Regions from separate parts of the Homo sapiens genome. Here region 1 is linked to region 2. Evidence: promoter capture Hi-C in 16 types of primary human blood cells and fetal thymus (Javierre and others, 2016). All regions are on one chromosome and are shown on one strand. Each heading gives the region's core, a stretch centred on a gene start or on the middle of the fragment in contact. The rest is flanking DNA. Distances are from core to core; before and after follow the strand shown. Region 1 has its middle 220 kb from the start of RXFP2. Region 2 holds the start of RXFP2 (relaxin family peptide receptor 2).

Region 1 (4,144 bases), core at 1,409-3,908, 220 kb before region 2:
GCATAAGTGAGATTTCTTATATAATTATATGGTTTGCAAATCATTGGAAGCTTTTCTTTCAATAAATTTACCTCTAATTTCTGTTTTGTGTCTTTTGATTTATTTTTTATTTTTTTTTGAGACAGGGTCTCTCTCTGTCACCAAGGCTAGAGTGCAGTGGCACGATCAGCTCACTGCAGCCTCAACCTCCGAGGCTCAAGCGATCCTCCCACCTCAGCCTCCCAAGTAGCTGAGACTACAGGCACATGCTACCATATCTAGATAATTTTTTGTATTTTTTATAGAGATGGAGTTTCACCACATTGCTTAGGCTGGTCTCAAACTCCTGGACTCAAGTGATCTAACTGCCTCAGCCTCCCAAAGTGCTGGGATTACAGGTGTGAGCCACTGTGCCCAGCCTGTTTTGTGTCTTGTATCAGCTAAAACTTCTAGAACATGTTGAATAATAAGATTATAGTAGGCATCTTGATTTTACTCTCAATTTTACTGGAACTTTCTCTAGCATTTCTATTTTAAGTATGATGTTGTCTATGGCTTAAGATAGATGTTATTTGTATTATATGAGAATCTGTCAGAGATACTCAGCCTCCAAAATGTCTATAATGATTCTTACCTTCTGGTAGTCACACTTTTGTGTAGTCTCCTCTCATAGTGAATAAGGCTGACGTATGTAACAATATTATGGACATAAAGTTTGGTGACTTCTGGGGCTGGTTCATAAAAGACATTGCAGTCTCTGCCTGGAAATTTTCCCCTGATTACTCACTCAGGGGGAAAAGCCAGCTGCCATGTTGTGAAAACACTCAAGCAGCCCTATAATGGTGAGAAACTGAGGCCTCCCATCAAACAGCCAGCTCTAACTTGCTAGCTATATGAGTAAGTCAGCTTGGAAGCAGTTACTCTGGCCCCATTGTAGCCTTCAGATGACTGCTTCCCTGGTTGATATTTTGATTGCAAACTCATAAAAGACCTTGAGTCAGATTCATCCAGCGAAGCCACTCCTGAATTCCTAACTTACAAAATATCTGTGAGATAATAAACGCTTATTGTTTTAAACTGCTAATTTGGGGGTAATTTACTATGCAGCAATAGATAGCTAACACACTTCCAAAATTATATTTAAAATAAATCACTTAAGGCCAGGCGTGGTGGCTCTTGCCTGTAATCCTAGCACTTTGGGAGACCGAGGCAGGAGAATTACCTCACATCAGGAGTTCGAGACCAACTTGACTAACATGGCGAAACCCCACCTCTACTAAAACTACAAAATTCGGCCATGGTGACACATGCCTGTAATCCCAGCTACTTGGAAGGCTGAGGCAGGAGATTCGCTTGAACCCAACAGGCGAAAGTTGCAGTGAGCTGAGATGATATCACTGCATGCTAGCCTGGGCTACAGAGCAAGACTTCTTCTCAAAAAATAAATAAATAAATAAATAAATAAATAAATAAATAAATAAATAAATAGATAGATAAATAAAATAATAATAAAATAAATCATTTAAGTCAGCAATGGTAAAAATGATATTGAATGCCTTTTTGACATCTATGAGATGATTCTTTTTTTTCTTCTTTTTTGGTGTATCAAGGTGATGCTTTATTTCATTAGCTTTCTTAATATTAATGTATTTTAGTCTTCCTAAAATCTTCTTGATCATGGCAGATTATTATTTTAATATATTCTCTAATTTTATTTTTTAGTCATATGTTTAGAATTTTGTATATATAAATTAATAAATAAGCTTGGCCTATACTTTTCTTTTTTTTATAATAAAGATTGTCCTACTTTTGGAAAATTATCTGGTTTTTTTTCCTATACTTAGAATTTAAAGGGAATCATCTGTCCCTTGAAAGCTTAAAGACCATGAAATCCTCTGCGCCCAGGGCCTTTTGCTTGTACTTTCTTTGATGATTTTCTGAATCCCTTCGTATTTATTGGTCTATCCAGGTTTTCTACTTGAATCCATTTTTAAGGTTTATTATGTTACAGAAAATGTTAAGCAAACTACCACTGAGATTATTATCCTATATATTTGCTTTTCGTATTATTTTTCTCACAGTTTTCAAAAATCTGGCTGAAATAAGATATGAAAGTGAAGAAGCTAAACCCATCAGCAGAATTAAATAACCAATGGGAGAAATTGCCCTTTCTTGATGCATCCTCTGTGGTAGGAACCAGCTTTGGGGAATGACTTTAGCTATTTTACCCGAGTGGAGATGTAGCCAACATGTAGCCGAAAGACTCAGAAGGAATTGGATCAGTGGAATCTGAGGAAAGCTGGGAAGCTACATGAGGAAGGGAGCATACTCATACATCTTGCTTGCCACTCCCCCAAAGAAATATGCTTTGTTATAACAGTTGAATTAACTTATATGGAAACATTAGGCCACTGACAAGCTAATTGCATAATGGCTCCCACACTTACCAGACCAAAGTACCAAAGTTAAGGGGAAAATGGAACGTATTGAGGAAAATACAAAGGATTTTGGTTGCATGCCTTTACAGGAACCGGGCTGCTTGCCCTCGCTCTGGTCCTGTTAACATTCCACACATGGCTCAATCTCAGCTACAGTTTCCATCATGTTCATTACTCTCACGAACATCTCAGTTGACATGAAATAAAGGTTTCCTCTTGACCTATGAAGTTTAAAGCTAATTCACTTTCTGAGTGGCTTAAACTAACTGCACCCTGCAGCTTGCTCAGCACTTGGAGCTATATTTGGAAAAGTTTTTGACAGTCAGTACAATTTTCTTCTCTAACATCCTGAAATTTTTATCAAAAGAAAACATTCAATTTTTTAAACTTTAGTTTTTCCCCCTGCACTGTTGTAACTAATCAGTGCTCGGGGAGGTCTTTGGTCATCTGCTTTGGTTTCATGTGACCATGTGAAGTGAACTTATACATGGACTACACACTCCAGAAATCCTTTAACCCTCTAGTGTCTTCTCAGTTACTTTCTGCAACAACTCCTTCCCCCAACAAAACAGAAAGGTCCAGAGAGACCGTTGCCTTCTCCTTTGGCTCAGCTGACTGGCTGGCCACGGATGCTGGTGATTGATGCCTCTCTTCCCCAGCTCTGCTGCTGGCATTTCCAAATCTGGACTTCTTCTTCTTCTTCTTCTTCTTCTTCTTTTTTTTTTTTTTTTGTATGTCTTTGAAAGCCTTCTTGTTTCACTAAACTTGTCAGTCATATATCCTCCTATTTTCTGCTCACAGCTGCAGTGGAAATGTAACACCATCCTTCCTCTTTGCTAAGGGTTTTCCTAAGGCCATGGTGATAGGGCTCTCCTATGCTCATGAGGCCCAGCACCACCAAATAGTTGTTGTTTTACTGTTCCAGATTAATGAATGGTTAAAAAATCCAGGCAACGTAGGGGTCCTGTGGTCACCTCAATAAATGCTAAATCAATTCTTAAGCCCTTCGCCATCCCCTAAGAACTTGAAATGCTGACACTTGGGGTCAAGCTTTTGCCACACATTTTCTGAAGGATTTGGGGCCTGATGTTGCTTCACTGCCCCTTACCAATCAGCTTGATTAGTGCTTTTCTGAGGACCTATCCTTTATTAAAGATCCTGCCTCTGCAAACTATATTAAGTAGTTTCTCTCTGGAAATAACTTTTCTCTTGTTCCATGTTCAACCATCTGCTTAATTTATAGACTATTAAGAGTACACACACTTTACTCTGTAATAAAAAAAAAATCCTTGCAACTGAGGTTTGTAAATTGCTCTCCAGGTGACACTGGAGCAAGGCAGGGGAGGAATGTGGTCTATTCCCAAAGCAGATAGCAAGAACTTTGACCCAAGTCCTGCCCATACCATTTACCAGCCGTGTGTCTTTGGGAAATTGACGTCTTCTTTTTGACCCTGAGTTTTCATGACTGTTCAACTATAAAATGTGAGGGTGATAATAACACCTACGCCTTAGGGTTTTGTTTGTTTTGTTTTAAATATAAAATAACACAATATACTCAAAAATATTTTATAAAGTGTAAAACATCAGAGGGCATTAGAAAGTATTCTGCAACTTCTCCTTTTGCAGAGGACTATGGAAACGTACAGACCTTTATTTATTTACCATATTTAGAGACTCTACTCCTTGGAGAGAATTCTAGACATGCCTTATATCAGGGCTACCGGCTC
Region 2 (4,502 bases), core at 547-3,046:
ACCAACTGTGGCTTTAAGAATAGACTACATTCATTCACTCTTATTTAAACACATACATTATATCCCTGTGTACATGTCAATCATTTCAGTTTCGGTGCAAAAGGCTGGATATTCACACCAGATAAGTCAAAGTTAAAACATATTAAATGAAATGGTATTTCAAAGCTTGCATGCTCTACCTTTAAAAACCAGTGAGCCAAAGATGTTCCTATTATTTATAATTATTGATTTCTGAAAGTTTGTGTTAATACATTTCAAAGATTAACATTGAAAAGCCTAACAGAAAGGAATAACGATTCAACTTTTTGGCAATGTAAATCTATTGCTAGGGCTCGATATCATGAATAAATCTTAACTAATTTCTTTGACATCTTGACATTTCTTATTTCTCCAAAAATTACATTTTCATAGAAAATATATTTATACTTCAAATAGACTTATGATGGTATTTAATTGCACTTAAAAACTCATGCTCAAAATTTCAGTACCAGAAACTAGCATCCATCATCTCGACAGCAAAACACAAAACGTAAGAAAAACTAATCATTCCTTTAAGTGAAATAAGGCAATTTTTACCTAAAAAGACCTTGAGGTTAGTGAGGGAAAAAAAGATGCTTGAAATGTAAGAAAAGATCCTGAAGTATTTCTTTTCATCTTTATTCTCTCTGTTGCTTTTTCTTTTGATTTGAAAGATCAGATGAGACCACATATAAATATGTCTGGGAGGTGTCTTAGAGAACTTAACTCACTTCTTAAAAAGAGAAAAGAACTAAATACATTATGTGATAAATAAAGTATTTTTTATTGTACATTCTGTTTGAATCCTTGTTCTCTCAAAGGCTAGAATGAAAGAAAGAACAAGGAAAACCCCGTGTTTTATGATTTGTGACGATAATAGTCACCACAAGGTAGTTTTTTTCAGTGTTGTTAGGACACAGTTAACGACAACATATAAGAGAATCTGCATCGTTCAGTCACAAAATCTTCTCTTCAAATCAGAACTACAAACTGTATTCTAGATAGATATTTCCCTGTTAGTAAAATATAAACTCAGACATGGAAATTCTACATCTTTTTGGAGAAGTCTTAATGATTACACTAGGATCAACAGAATCCTACAACCAAAAGTCAATTTTTATACTTTTAACTTGTACTAACTATGCTGTTGAGAAAGCTGCTTTCAGGATGTAAGAACTAAATTATAATTAGTGTTTTCTAATAGGTGTGCAATACAGAGCTGGAAGCAAGAATAAAATTATTCACTTCAAGAAAAAGGAATATGATTATGCGGGAAGTATGTGAAGTGAAAATATTGTATGAATGTTTTACAGTAATTATTTAACACAATGCCATATATTTAAATTATCTTTTCATATGTCATTTGAAAACATTTAGGTACATTTGAATAGAAGTGGGTGTTCTTTGTGTATCTGTCAATAAGTAGTTTTTTACATTTGTTTATTGCATGAAAATATAATTGTAAAGGGTTTCATAGCCTATTCAGTGTAAGCCTATATCCTTCATATTTGAGAACTTCGATGTTTGGATTTAAACAGAGCAAATTGTACATGCTTTGGAGGAAAAAAATTTTTAAGTGATTAAAAAATATTTCTTATCAGATAATACCAAAGTCCTATTATACCTTCTTTTACACACCATAATGAATTAGTGATCAAGAACACAACTGTAGATTTAAACTAAAAGAAACAAAAAAGAAAGAACAAAAAAGACAGGCTGCATAGTGACAAGAATCCATCTCCCTTCATGCCAGTGAGGTTCTAGCTGTGAGCATGCTCAGAACATGGGAGGCACTGAACTTACTACATCAGAACTCCTGCTGAGGTATAAGAGGATACGTCTAATAACTCAATTGCTGTAAACCTATGATTGTTTTTCTGGTTTTTAAACATCTCTTCAGCCTCAGATTGATTACAATGTTCTTTCTACTTCATTTCATCGTTCTGATCAATGTCAAAGGTAAGGTTGCTACTTTCTCGTTTTAAATGAGTGCAATTCCCAAAAAATACATTTCTATGTAGTTCTATGGCAGTTGTAATAAATATATTGGGGTGTTTAAAAAAAAAACAGACATCAAATTTGCCTGGTATTTGTCATTATCTTTCATTGCTTGTAGTCCCACACAGCCTAGTAATTTTTAGATGCAACAAATTTTTCATGGAAACAAGCCTTTGTATGTTATTAAAGCTGTAGATAAAATATGTCAAAAAACAATGTTGACTATATCAATTAAAACATAGAAAACATTTTTGGCATTTGTTCTGAAAAGTGTGACAAATTAATAAACTAAAATTGTGTTTTGTGGAATTTCAACCTGTTGAAATATGCCCATAAAATTCAAGTAATTATTAGTAACTATCTTGCGTGAACATAATTAAACTGGGAACTCCAAAGCCACAGGCAGATCTAAAAAACAGTATCTGTCTCTAAGAGTAAACCTCTCTAAAATAAAGTTATTAAAAGTCTATACAAGTGCATTTACTTAGATAATTTTCTTTTGTTTTTAATTTGTGGAAATTTTTATTTCAGTCAAACTCTTAAGTTTCAAGTCAGTACCATTTTCATTGTAAAGCTCACCAAAAAATAAAACCTAAATCTTCACTTGTTTTTAAATAAAAAGATACGTTGTCAGCCTATACATTCATAAACAACCTATTAACCACACCCAAGATTTGCTGGGGTTTATTATTATTCAAAAATGTTTCTATTTTAATTTGTATTTTTTCTTAAAGAATTTTGATAAACCTCTGAGAATAAAGGTTAAAATTTGAAATTATTTTTATTTTCTGAGAAATTCGTTTTAGGTTTTTTAAATATTCAGTTTTATTAGGTGAATTCCAAGTGAATATTTTAAATCTTGAAATAAAATGCAATACTTATGAGGAATTATTTTAAAACTTCTAACAAACAAAAGATTTTTAAAAGGCTTAAAATATCTAAATTTTATTTTGAATTTAAAATAATACTAAAACTTTACTACAAATATTTAAAATCTATATCTCCATGCACCTAGCATGACTTTTATTTTATATTTTAATATCTCTTACATGAAAAGCTAAGGATTAACTAAGAAGAAACAATATATGAACTCACCTTGCATGCAGTACAGTTGCAACAAGCAGTCTATTTCTATATTTAAGGTCCTACTTCAGAAGTTCATGTTCTATCCACATTTGAATATTCAATTTTATACAATTTTAAGAATATACAGCTACAAAGCAGGTTCTTAAGACATGTCATAGAGCTCATCTGTGCCCTTAAAAAGTTCTTTAATGTACGGGACTATAACCACAGTTTAACCAATTTTACTATACTTTTGCTTTTATACATAATGCATTTAATTGATTTTGCTTAAACCGTTTATGAGATGAAAAACATCTATTACTAAAATAACATTTTGTGATTTACCATAATGTAAAGTCACCCTTTAAACTAAAAAAAAGTTCAATTAATAATTTTTGTTTGATTTTATTTCTAAGTAAAAGCCATATTTCAAACTCCTAGTACCAACCTAACAAATATTTATTGATTATAATCCTGGAAATTTTTATTTTCTAATTTTATATTACTTTTGACTACTAATTTAAACCTTTATGTTTAAAATGATTTCTTTTCAAAGCAAGACACATTAATCAATGCTTTGACATTTTATTCCTACTTATAAAAATAATAGAATTTGCTCTATAATTAGTAAAACTCTTTTCTTTTTCACAACAAAATTGTGGACAATTAAAACGGTAAGGCTTTTCATAGTAACCAAAGAAAGCTCATTTAGAGTTGCCTAAGAGTAAAGGTTGTCTTTTTAATTTAAATAATATTTGTGATAGACTCTTAGGCCAGATCTAAACAAAACATAAAATTAGAAATTATGTGATCGTCTTTTCTTCTCTGACCATCATCACTCTGGAGTGCCTAAGGAATGAGTGATTGCCTTAAGCTACAGGCACTAACAGACAACTATGCATAATGTATCTTATTATTATTACGTGTGTTTTATCATTAATTTATTCACTGTGTATCTCTGTTAACCAGCTTCAAACTACTTTTTAAAAAACATTTCTTAATGGACAAATTAGGAACCATATTACATATCAAAAACATGGGCTTATGTAGGAAATTAAAAGCATGAAGTATTGAGACTGCTACTTGGTAACTACCAATTGTGTTTTGTGGAATTTCAACCTGTTGAAATATGTCCATAAAATTCATGTAATTGTTAGTAACTATCTTGCGTTAACGTAATTAGACTGGGAACTCCAAAGCCACAGGCAGATCTAAAAACAGTATCTGTCTCTAAGAGTAAACATCTCTAAAATAAAGTTATTAAACATAACTTTAAACTTTTAAAAAACATTTCTTAATGGACAAATTAGGAACCATATTACAAATCAAAAACATGGGCTTATGTAAGAAAGTAAAAGCATGAAGCATTGAGGCTGCTACTTGGCAACTACCAATTGCTACTTAAATAATTTGCTTAACCT

Evidence for each region. Contacts are between HindIII fragments. The CHiCAGO score rates a contact against its expected background, and 5 or more counts as called.
Region 1: a contact is called between a fragment that was not itself captured here and the fragment with the promoter of RXFP2 in region 2, in 1 of 17 cell types (endothelial precursors). The highest score is 5.5, in endothelial precursors.

The regions. Positions count from the first base shown.
Region 1 is chr13:31,516,335-31,520,478 of GRCh38, forward strand. No RefSeq gene overlaps it. Among named protein-coding and RNA genes, the nearest start is that of RXFP2, 220 kb to the right of the region's middle. The HindIII fragment of the contact is 1,613 bases long and covers 1,853-3,465 here.
Region 2 is chr13:31,737,730-31,742,231 of GRCh38, forward strand. It overlaps RXFP2 (relaxin family peptide receptor 2), which reads left to right and starts at 1,797. Exons shown (of 18, transcript NM_130806.5): 1 at 1,797-1,977. The coding sequence starts at 1,884. The HindIII fragment of the contact is 9,597 bases long and covers 164-4,502 here.